2 separate regions of the Homo sapiens genome follow, and region 1 is linked to region 2. The links are contacts of gene promoters, found by promoter capture Hi-C in human tissues and cell types (Jung and others, 2019). All regions are on one chromosome and are shown on one strand. Each heading gives the region's core, a stretch centred on a gene start or on the middle of the fragment in contact. The rest is flanking DNA. Distances are from core to core; before and after follow the strand shown.

Region 1 (6,472 bases), core at 3,071-5,570, 68 kb after region 2:
AACGCTGCTATAAACATGGTGTTCTGTGCAGGAAACGCACAAGGGGAGAAGAAAACACACACACACACACACACACACACACACACACACACACACACACACAATACCTTTAAGGGTAAATAAGCTTTATCCCACGTAAATGGCAATGTAGATATAATAAGCAAATGATATAATAAGCAAATTACTATAATAAGCAAATTGAGGCCCGGCGCGGTGGCTCATGCCTGTAATCCCAGCACTTTGGGAGGCCAAGGCAGGCAGATCACGAGGTCAGGAGATCGAGACCATCCTGGCTAACACGGTGAAACCCTGTCTCTACTAAAAATACAAAAATTAGAAGGGTGTGGTGGCCCGTGCCTGTAATCCCAGCTACTTGGGAGACTGAAGCGGAAGAATCGCTTGAACCTGGGAGGCGGAGGTTGCAGTGAGCTGAGATCGCGCCACTGCACTCCAGCCTGGGAGACAGAGCAAGACTCCATAAAAAAAAAAAAAAAAAAAAAAAAAAAAAAGCACATTGATATAATAAGCAAATTGCAACGGGAAGTCGCCGAAGCGAAAAAAAAATATATATATACACACTCACCAGACTATGAAGGATTCACCAGCAACAGTCTGGGCTCCAGAGTCAGCCACCAGTCCGTGCACAGACAAGGAGAGGTCTCCTGAAGCTTTGGCGCAGTCTGGGACCCTAACTCTTTTTGTAATGAGTTGTTTGGCATGAGGCCCAGTCACGAGGGCCCTTCACGACTGGGCCCAAGGAACGCAAAAAGGTCAACTCGTTTTCGTGATTGTCTATTGTTTTTCAATAACTAATGTATAGGAATAGATTGAAATAGAGATTTCTCCGAAACAGCGCTGGATGAACGCCTCAAGGGGCTCACACGACCCATTCGAGGACTTGCTGACCATTGTTTGTGTCCATGTTCAATTGAGTTCGAATTTAATATTTAACTTTTCCTCCACACATGGTTATACAAATATCTGTTCAAATCCCTGTTTTCGATCCTTTTAAGTATGCACCCAGAAGTGAACTTGCAGCATCCTATGGTAGTTCTATTTTTCATTTTATGAGGAACCATCATATGGATTTTCATACTGCTGCACCATTTTACATTTCCATAGCCCTGTGTAAGCATTCCTCCTTCCCTACAGTTTCACCAAAACTCGACAGGTTTTTTTGCTTGTTTGTTCTTAATAGCCATCCTATTGGGTGGTATCTCATTGTGATTTTTATTTGCATGCCCCTATTGATGAGTGATGCTGGGTATCATTTTGTATGCTCATTGGCCATTTGCATATGTTCTTTAGAGAAATGTCTATTCAAGTCCTCTGCCCAATTTTTTTTTTTCTTTATTGAGACGGAGTCTTGCTCTGTCACCCAGGCTGGAATGCAGTGGCATGATCTTGGCTCACTGCAAACTTCACCACCCGGGTTCAAGCGATTCTCGTGACTCAGCCTCCTGAGTAGCTGGGACTATAGGTGCAGGCCACCCGCCCGCTAATTTTTTTTGTATTTTTTTGTATTTTTACTAGAAACGGAGTTTCACCATGTTGGCCAGGCTGGTCTTGAACTCCTGACCTCAGGTGATCTGCCCGCCTTGGCCTCCCAGAGTGCTGGGATTATAGGTGTAAGCCACCACACCTGGCCTTCTGCCCATTTTTAATGGGCATTTGTTTGGTTGCTGAGTTGTAGGAGTTCTTAATATTGTTTGGTTGTTAGCCTCTAAGCATATATATATGATTTACAGATATATTTTCCTATTCCCTGGGTTAACTTTTGACTCTGATGATAGTATATCCTTTGAGTTACAAAGGTTTTTTAATTTTGATGTAGTCCAAGTTATCTATATATTGTTGTCTGTGCTTTTGGTGACATATTCAAGAAATCACTAAGAAATCCAGTGTCATGAAGGTATTGATCAAATCATTACCAAATCCAATGTCATGAAGGTATTGATCAATGTTTTCTTTAAGAATTTTATAGGTTTGGAATTTAGGTTTAGGCCTTTGATCCATTTTGTGTTAACTTTTGCATATGGTGTAAGGTAAGAACCCACCTTCATTCTTCTGCATTTTGAAATCAAGTTTTTCCTACACCGTTTGTTGAAAAGGCTGTCTTTTTCCCAATGAATGTTCTTGGCACCCATGTGGAAAATCATGTGACCATATAAGTGAGAGTTTCTTTCTGGGCTCTCTTTACTCTTCCATTTTTCTGTATATGTGTCTTTATGTATTATAGTACCACACTGTTTTAATTCCTGGATCTTTGTAGTTTATTTGGAAACCAGGAAATGTGAGACCTTCAACTTTTCTTTTTAATGGATTTATACATTTTTTCAATTTACCTTAGAATTGTACATTGAGTTGGATAATAGTAACAAAACCTGCTAGGCTTTGGAGAGTGGATTCCCAAGGTTTTTCAAATACACTGTCTCATTGGAGCCTTAGTACTCCTGATCAAATAAAGACAGACAGATTTTTTATTTTGCCAGTGAGAATCACAGTCTGGAGAGGCTGTTGAATCCCAACACAGTGGTCACTGATGGGTCTGATACTGGAATTGGGTCTGTGTCCACCAGGCTGTGGGGCCTTTTCCAGAAACCAGGCTCCTGCACAGGGACTGGGGCTGAAGGAGGGACTCTCCCGGGAGGAGGCAGCCTGGTGAGAAGGATGCCAGCAGAAGTCTCAGGCCTCTAAGGCCTCCCCTCCTTCCCTGGTCTCTGCAGCTGAAGTTGCATCAGGAAGCTGTATCTTCTAACTGCTTGAGGCAACTTCTCAGATAAACCCTCTGAGGTGAATCCATAAACTTTTACAACTTGCACTTTCAAAGGATGATGCAAGGAGCAACAATTGCACCAGCTTGAGCCATTTGAGGGTGGTGTGGAATTGGAAACTGTGTCAAAGGCAATGGAACCCTGCCTCTAGCATCAGAAAGCTAAGCCTGTATTCAAAATAGATGCCTGCCAGGTGCAGTGGTTCACACCTACAATCCCAGTGCTTCAGGAAGCCAAGGTGGCCAATCCTGGTTTGAGGCCAGGATTTCAAGACAAGCCTGAGTCACATAGAGAGACCCCCTAACTGGGTGTGATGATGCATGCCTGTAGTCCCAGCTACTTGGGAGACTGAGGAGGATCACTTGAGCCCAGGAGTTCAAGATTTCAGTGAGCCACTGTACTCCAGCCTGCACAATACTGTGAGACACTGGCTCAAAAAAAAAAAAAAAAATGCCAGAGCAACATAAAATTGTAAGCATTCATTACCTTTCTGCCACCATGCATTGGGGAAAGTGGATCCCTCAGCTGATGCTGACCATTGGCAGACAGGATGGTGTGTGTGGAGATGGCGGGAGGGTCTTAGGGATGTGGGATGAACCCTGACACCATCTACTACCCCATCCTTCACTGCAGACCCAGTTCTACCAGTTCTCATCAAAAGGGTGAACTGCATCCCAAACACAGTCCACATTCTGTGGCTTCCATTCCTGAAGACATCTCCAGAAAGTCTCAGAAGAAAATTAAACTATATGAGAGAACAAATCTTTTCTATCGTATAATTATTACATGTTCTACAATCTGGGGTTAGATCATAAAACTGCAATTATGGGAAATAAAGGTCAAATAAAGAAGGAAAGAAAGAAAGACAAGAAGGAAGGAGGGAATGAGAGAAGAAAGAGGAGGGAATGAGGGAAGAAAGAGGAGGGAATGAGGGAAGAAAGAAGAGGAAAGGAAGAAAGTAAAAAAGGAGGGAGGGAGGGAAGAAAAGGAATAATCACAAAGAAGGAAGCAACGTCTCAGTTATTCTAGGCAGTTCATTACTATGAATCATCAGAACAAACAAGCTTACAAATCTACATTCCTAATTTGATGTGAAAAATCACATCACTGTTCTTATGAAATAAAGGATAGCAAAGTTGGAGTGTGGTCTCAACGTCAAGTTGCCAGGTTATAGTTCACCTCTATCTGCTTCTTCCTTTGTGGAACAAGGTGAATGAGAAAAGACATGTCAAAGAAATGTTTTCAGGGCCAACTGTGGTGGCTCATGCCTATAATCCCAGCACTTTGGGAGGCCGAGGCAGGTGGATCACTTGAGGTCAGGAGTTTGAGATCAGCCTGGCCAACATGGCAAAACCCCATCTCTACTAAAAATACAAAAAAAATTAGCCAGGTGTGGTGGTGCACACTTATAATTCCAGCTACTTGGGAGGCTGAGACACAAGAATTGCTTGAACCCGGGAGGTGGTTGCCGTGGGCTGAGATAGCGCCATGGCACTCCAGCCTGGGTGACAGAGTGAAACTGTGTCTCAAAACAAAACAAAACAAAAACAAAAAGAAAGAAATGTTTTCAGGATTAAATAAAGCCATACATGTAAAGCAACAAGCACAATCCTAAAAGGGAAACACGTTGCCTTGACTATTGTATGATTTTCATCCAATTTCTTCCAGAGGAAACAAGAACACAACCAAGTTTAGGTGAAGGGTGCTAACATGCAAATGGGTAATTTTTGAGGAAAGCATGTCATCATATCAGCACTCGATATGATAAGTGTTTCAAACAACACGTGAGAACTCTCAAGAGTGGCTCTAAGAAAATGGACCAAAGATGGAACTTTAAAGACTGTATATAAAACGGAAAAGTTAGAAGGAAATTACCAAGGGAGTTACTGAGAGAACCTAAAGTAAAAACATGTAGCAAAAGCCAAATCACAAGTGTTTTGGGAAGAGTAAAAATGAAGCATGTGATTTTCAGGAGAAAAAGAGCCAGGATATTTATTTCTTGTTTTCTTTTAGTTTTGTAGTTGTTGTTTTTGAGACAAAGTCTCACTCTGTCGCCCAGGCTGGAATGCAATGGCGCAATCTCAGCTCACTGCAACCTCTACCTCCCAGATTCAAGCAATTCTCCTGCCTCAGTCTCCCAAGTAGCTGAGATTACAGGCACCCACCACCACACCCAGCTAATTTTGCATTTTTAGCAGAGATGGGGTTTCACCACATTGGCCAGGCTGGTCTTGAACTCGTGACCTCAAGTGATCCACCCACCTCAGCCCCCAAAGTGCTGGGATTACAAGCATGAGCCACCAAGCCTGGTCGAGCCGGGATATTTAAATTCACATTTGCCTAATGGACCTACAACATCCACTTAGTTCTGAGACCTTGATCTGTCATGGACAAGAGGCTGGTCTGCTGAGGAACTGAATGTTCATGAGCAGGGCTCTGTCAAACATAATCTTGCCTTTGTGACCTTTTTATAAACCCAATGATCTCTCTGACAACCACCACTTAGACAGATTGAACCCTAGGCTAACACATTCTGCTGCCAAGTGGATGTTATTAATAAGGTGTTTCACAGCACAACAAACTAAACCCTTCCAAGAACAAACTCGATGCAAAGGAAAGTAGATTGAACCCTACTTTCTGCCATGTACAAAAATCAAATCAAATAAAAAACAGATCAACAGGCCTGGCGCAATGGCTCATGCCTGTAATCCCAGCATTTGGGTGGCCGAGGCGGGTGGATCACTTGAGGTCAGGAGTTCAAGACCGGCCTGACTAACATGTGAAACCCCATCTCCATCAAAAATACAAAAATTAGCCAGGCGTGGTGGCGGGCACCTGTAATCCCAGCTACCTGGGAGGCTGAGGCAGGAGAATCACTTGAACCCGGGAGGCAGAGGTTGCAGAGAGCCGAGATCACACCTCTGCACTCCAGCCTGGGTGACAGAGAGAGACTGTGTCTCAAAATAAATAAATAAATAAAAAGTCAATAGCTTAAATATAATGTAGCTAAAATCATAAAACTCTTAGAAAAAAACATACAGGAATATCTTGATTACACTTTATTTGGAAGCAGATTGTTAGATACAACAGTGAAAGCATGAGTAACAAAACAAAAAAATAGATATATTGAACTTCATCAAATTTTAAAACTTTTCTCTATCAAAATGTTCTGTTAAGAAAATGGAGCATGGTACCAATAGAAACACAGATACAAAGGACAATGGAACAGAAGAGGTGGTGCAGAAATGAATCAATGAATTTATGGCAAATCATTTTTTGACAAAGATGCCGAGAACACACAGTGGGGAAAGGACAGTCTCTTCCATAAATGGTGCTGGGAAAACTGGAAAACCACATGCAGAGGAATGAAATTAGCTCCTCATCTCAGGTCTCAGTAAACCTGAAAATGCAAAACCACTAAAAGAAAACATAGGAATAATCCTCCATGAAATTACACTGGGCAATGATTTTTTGGATAAGAACCCAAAACACAAGCAACAAAGGCAAAAACAGAAAAATGAGATTGCATCAGGCTAAAAAGTTCCCACACAGCAAAAGAAACAATCTATAGAGTGAAGAGACATCCTATGGAATGGGAGAATACAATTGCAAAATTAAAGAGGGGGCCTGGTGTGGTGGCTCAGGCCTGTAAACCCAGCACTTTGGAGAGGCCAAGGCAGGAGGATCACTTGAGCCCA
Region 2 (6,196 bases), core at 1,845-4,344:
GGAAGCAGCCCTACTGGGTCTGTGGGTTTTTCTCTTCGTGTGTGGAGACAAGAGATCATAGAAATAAAGACACAAGACAAAGAGATAGACAAAAAGACAGCTGGGTCCGGGGAACCACTACCACCAAGGTGCAGAGACCAGTAGCGGCCCCGAATGCCTGGCTGCACTGTTATTTATTGGATACAAGACAAGGAGGGAGGGTAAGGAGTGTGAGCCATCTCCAATGATAGGTAAGGTCACGCGAGTCACGTGTCCACCAGACAGGGGGCCCTTCCCTGTTTGGCAGCTGAGGTGGAGAGAGAGAGAGGACAGCTTACGCCATTATTTCTTCTATGCATTTCAAAGACTTTAGTACTTTCACTAATTCCGCTACTGCTGATTAGAAGGCAGAACCAGGTGTACAGGGTGGAACATGAAAGTGGACCAGGAGTGTGACCACTGAAGCACGGCATCACAGGGAGACGTTTAGGCCTCTGGATGGCTGCGGGCGGGCCTGACTGATGTCAGGCTTTCCGCAAGAGGTAGTGAGCAGAGTCTTCTCTAACTCCCCCGGGGAAAGGGAGACTCCCTTTCCCTGTCTGCTAAGCAATGGGTGCCTTCCCCAGGCACTGACGCTACTGCTAGACCAAGGTCCGCTAGGTAACGGGCTCCTTCCCAGGGGCTGGCATTACCGCTAGACCAGGGAGCCCTCTGGTGGCTCTGTCCAGGCATAACAGAGGGCTCACCCTTGTCTTCTGGTCACTTCTCACCATGTCCCTTCAGCTCCTATCTCTGTATGGCCTGGTTTTTCCTAGGTTATGATTGTAGAACAAAGATTATTATAATATTGGAATAAAGAGTAATGCTACAAATGATTAATGATATATACAATCATATCTATAATCTATTTCTAGTATAACTACTCTTATTCTATATATTTTCTTTATTATACTGGAACAGCTTGTGCCCTCGGTCTCTTGCCTTGGCACCTGGGTGGCTTGCCACCCACGCGTACAAAGAAGGCAGAAAGGAAATACAGAAAATTCAAACACTGCTGGGATTCTGAATGTTGTTTGTCTTTTCCTTATACTTTTCCTTTAAAATAAAAAACTACAATGAGAACATAATGCTTCATAATAGAAAAAGATTTACACTTAAAAAACATAGATGATGAAAGGGAGCTGGCTAGGGCACCAGGGACAGGCATTGGGAAGGTGACCTCAAGCCGCAGTGAAGAAGTAATGAACAACCTAGGGACCAATACAGAAAGGCCACCTGTGGTTCACTTATATAACACATCTCTACCTCATATTATACCAAAATACATTCCCTGAGCAGTAAAGAATTATACGTTTTAAAAAGCAGTACAATTTGGAAGTAAATTAGGAAGTATTTTTATATTTTAGAGTTTGGGGAGACATTTAAAAGCAAACTAGGAAACTCAGAAACCATTTTACTAAAAGTATAGATTCATTGGGGATATATAAAATTGAATATATATATTTTTGAGATGGAGTCTTTCTATTGTCGCCCAGGCTGGAGTGCAATGGCGCGATCTCAGCTCACTGCAACCTCTGCCTCCCAGGTTCAAGCGATTCTCCTTGCCTCAGCCTCCTGAGTAGCTGGGATTACAGGCACCCGCCACCATGCCCAGCTAATTTTTTGTATTTTTAGTAGAGATGGGGTTTCACCATGGTAGCCAGGCTGGTCTTGAACACCTGACCTCAGGTAATCCACCGGCCTCGGCCTCCCAAAGTGCTGGGATTACAGGCATGAGCCACTGCGCCTTGCCTAAAATTAAATATTTTATATGGATATCATATTATAAACTAAGAGGAGCAAAATTATGTTATCAACTCAATTGTTGCATAAACATTTGATAGTGTTCATAAAAAATTATTGATAAAATATCTTTATAAACCTGGTTTAAAAAGATTAACTTGATAAGAGGTGCAACCTGTTGTAAACAGCTTACTGAGGAACTTTGGTAATCATTACCGACCAAGACAAGAATGCTTAATTTCTTTCCGACTTATAGTTGAGGAAGCCCTAAACAAACAATAAGAAAAAGAAATGACTCTGGGTGTGGTGGCTTACACCTGTACCCCTAGCACTCTGGGAGGCTGAGGTGAGAGGATAGCTTGAGCTCAGGAGTTTGAGACCAGCTTCAGCAACATAGTGCGATCCCATCTCTACAAAAAAATAAAGAAAATAGCTGGGTGGGGTGGTACGCGACTGTATTCTCAGCTACTTGGGGGGCTGAGATGGGACCATCACTTGAGCTGGGGAAGTCAAGGCTGCAGTGAGCCATGGTCGCGCCACTGCACTCCAGTCTAGGCGATAGAATGAGACATTGCCTCACATAAAGAAATGAGTTATACACATTAAAACAATGAAAATATGCAGAGAAAATATTTATATTTGATGGTTCAAATAATAAACTGACAGCTATCAGAATTCAGCAAGTTTCCAGGAAAAAGGTTCTATTTAAATAATTATCAATGGCTTCCCTCTACAGGAGAAGTTATCAATACAACAATGAAAGGGAAAACTAAAAGGCCCAAAAGGACTGAGTGAGTGTCAAGGAGAGTCTGTTTCCTATTAGAGCTGCAAATATATGTGTCCTGTGTACAGGACTGTAGCAACGTGGAGGATAGGTAGAAACCCGATCGATGAGCATCCTGTATCCGTGGTAGCTGAGAACCTGGATGGGAAGCCCTAGCCTTAGCCCCATCCCTAGGCCTTGTCACTTAAGCCCCGCCCAGCCCTCGTCTCCGCCCCCTAGGAATTTCTACCAAGCCCCGCTCCCAATCTGGTTCCACCTTTAGCCCCGCCCCTTGGAGTATTTAAAAGGCCACGCCCCTAGGTCTAGCCCCAGTTCCGCCCCTCAGGCCGAGTCATGCAAGTCCAGTTCAGGGTTCTGTTTCTTCTCTGTTTACTCCAAATCATGAAGAAACTAGGATTTCTCATCCACTTGCGGCTGGAACCAGCCTTGGCGCTCCTTTGCATCCCGCTCCTACCTGCTCCACCCCCTTCACCTCAAGTCCCGCTTCCCAGGCCCCGCCCCATACGCCATTTGCAGCGCCGAAAGAGGAATCAGAAGTGTGCTTCTGCGCATGCGCGAGTCGACAGCCTTGTCACCCTACGCCTCCGCCCGCGTCTGAGGAACATTTTTGCCTCCGCCCGCTTCCTGTCCTGCCCTGCCCCGCCCCGCCCTGCCTGCCCCGGGTCGGGTCCGCGGGAGACCGAGGGCTGGGTTTGGGAATCGGCGGTCTAAGGGCTGCCTCCCCGCCACTCCTTGTCCGGACCCCGCGCCCGGGGCCTCCCGCCGCCGCGGCGCCTCCTCAGAGAGCCCGGGTCAGCTGCCCCTGTGGCCGCGGCTGGTCCCAAACTCACTGAATCGGGAACTCTGGTCTGGGTACAGAAATCGGGGTGATTCTGATGCAGGCGAGAGTTGGAGAACCAATGTCGTAGTTCATCAGCCTCCGAAAGCATCCTTTGCTCTCTTTCCAGAAAGGAAGAGCATCTCTGCCATTCGTGTCTCAAGGACAAGCGCTTCAGCCTCGTTCTCTGTGAGCTGATCTGTGGATCGCGGCGTGTCGGGTGAGCACGGGGTGACATTTGCCTCGGCTCGGTCCCCTCCTGTCCCCTCTTTATGCATTAGGTAGTGTTTGGGCCAAGCGCGGTGGTTCACGCCTGTAATCCCAGCACTTTGGGCGGCCGAGGCGGGCGGATCGCTTGAGCCCAGGAGTTTGAGGCCAGCCTGGGCAACATAGCAAGATCCCGTCTCTACCAAAAAAAAAAAAAAAAAAAAAAGTAAAATAAAAGGTGCTCTCCTGTGTTCCCAGCTACTCGGGAGGCAGAGGTTGCAGTGAGCTGAGATCGCATCACTGCACTCCAGCCTGGGCAACAGAGCGAGACACTGTCTCAAAAAAACAAAAAGATAGTATTTGGTCTCTGGATATTATATTCTGCCTGTGGACATCAGTTTGATACATTATATTCAAGTGAAAGTGAACTGATGCATTTTGTCATTAATGATGCATTTGAATCATTTGTCTATAGATTGGTTAAATTTCACACAGAAAATTTGGTCATCTGTCAGTTTCAATCTTTTCCCTTTTTATTCCTTGCAGTTTCCATTTCTTTTCATTTCTTTACTGCACTTGCCAGGACCTCCAGTACAATGTCCGACAGAATAGCATGTAATTTACATCCTGTCTTGTTTCTGATTCCAGAGGGAATTATTCTATCATTTCACCATTAAATAGGATGTTTGCTGTAGGTGTTTGTAGGTTTTTTTCCTTTCTTTATTCCTATTTCTTTTTAGAAAATAGGAGTCTCGCTCTGTTGCCCGGGCAGGTCTCGAACTCATGGGCTCTCCGCCTCCCAAAGTGCTGGAATTACAGGCATGAGCCACTGCACCCGGCCTGACCGTGTTTTAAACCGCTGATTTTTTTTTCTTTAATTACTGGGTGTAATCAGGTTTTAGATCACTGCTTGAAAGTTGTACTACTTTCTAGAAATTCATTAATTACCTGTGCATCTTCATATTTATTCCTTAAATTTTTTCTATATTCTCCTTATGATATCTGTAATTATGATTAATTCTTGTTCATTTTTTTTTTGTTGTTGTTGTTTATGCCCTGTTGCTCTTAAAATTGCTGAGTCTGTTGCTGGCTGCAGTGGCGCATATCTGTAGTCCCAGCTGGTGGGAAGCTAAGGCAGATGGATCGCTTGAGCCTAGGAAATGAGATCAACCTGGGAACATAAAGAGTCTGTCTTAAACAATAAATTAAATTAAAAAATTTTTTTAAAAAGCTGAGTTTGTCAGTTTCATTAGTTTTTCTTTTTGCAAAGGATGCTTTTTTAGCTTTTCTGATTTTGTTTACTATGTTTTAAAAAAGATTATTTTCTATTTTCTTTCTAAACTTTTATGCTGGTCTTTATTCAACTTTATATATCAATAGTCTAGCCTATTAATACCGATTTTTTTTTTTTTTTTTGAGACAGAGTCTCGCTGTGTCTCCCAGGCTGGAGTGCAGTGGCGTGATCTTGGCTCACTGCAACCTCTGCCTCCTGGGTTCAAACAATTCTCTGCCTCAGCCTCCCAAGTAGTGGCGATTACAGGCACCTGCCACCATGCCCAGCTAATTTTTTTGTATTTTTAGTAGAGGTGGGTTTCACCATCTTGGCCAGGCTGGTCTTGAACTCCTGACCTTGTGATCCACCCACCTTGGCCTCCCAAAGTGCTGGGATTACAGGTGTGAGCCACCGTGCCTGGCCAGTACTGATTTTTTTTCCTCTAGGAGTTGATAATGCTTATAAATATATAATAGATATACTAAACCCTCTGAAATTCCAGCATGATCTGAAATAGTTATTTTAATTTTCTGCTTCTACCCTGCCACATTACCTGTCCTGACTTGCTAAAGATAAATATGTTACGTGTCTCCTTATCCCTATAATGTGCTACATTTTTTATATAGCATGTATCTCTACCTGATGTATTTTGTTTAATGTCTTACCCAAAATATTATAACATTCATTTGCTTCAGGATTTTTCTTTTTTATTTTTCTATGCCTTATTCCTTGTGACTTCATGTAGTAGGGTCAGGATAAATGTCACCTAAATAAACATGAAACGAAGGAGGTAAGGGCTATAAGGGAAGCATCGTTGCCCAAGACATAGGCCTTAGGAAAAGGAGCTCAAAGATAACATATTTGATTATTTATTTATTTTATTTATTTTGAGACAGAGTCTGGCTCTGTTGCCCAGGCTGGAGTGCAGTGGTGTGATTTCGGCTTACTGCAACCTCTGCCTCCTGAGTTCACACAATTCTCCTGCCTCAGCCTCCTGAGTAGCTGGGACTACAGCTGTGCGCCACCATGCCCGGCTGATTTTTGTAGTTTTAGTAGAGACAGGGTTTCGCCATTTTGGCCAGGCTGGTCTTGAACTCCTGACCTCATGTGATTCCCCCGACCTTGGTCTCCCAAAGTGCTGGGATTACAAGCATGAGCTACCACGCACAGCATATTTGATTAGAATGCTTCATTTGTCCACTCTCTGTAGTGCCCAATAGGGTTCTAGGCTAAATCCTGGTAAAACTAGGGAATAAGGGGCTTAAAAACAATTAAAATTTAAGGTATGTGTTCAAAAATGTACTCACTGGGTGTTTGGGTTTTGAAGACAAATAGGCCTGCATTCATACCCTGC

The links. Contacts are between HindIII fragments. The study calls those that stand out against the background at their distance.
Region 1: a contact is called between a fragment that was not itself captured here and the fragment with the promoter of ZNF699 in region 2, in 3 of the 25 tissues and cell types used here (mesendoderm cells, pancreas and thymus).

Annotation. Positions count from the first base shown.
Region 1 is chr19:9,240,098-9,246,569 of GRCh38, reverse strand. It overlaps a transcript of OR7E24 not described here. Among named protein-coding and RNA genes, the nearest start is that of OR7E24, 7.6 kb to the left of the region's middle. The HindIII fragment of the contact is 9,125 bases long and covers 1-6,472 here.
Region 2 is chr19:9,306,736-9,312,931 of GRCh38, reverse strand. ZNF699 (zinc finger protein 699) reads left to right here and starts at 3,094. Exons shown (of 6, transcript NM_198535.3): 1 at 3,094-3,582. RefSeq lists silencers at 525-819, 3,175-3,424 and an enhancer at 2,995-3,114. The HindIII fragment of the contact is 17,114 bases long and covers 1-6,196 here.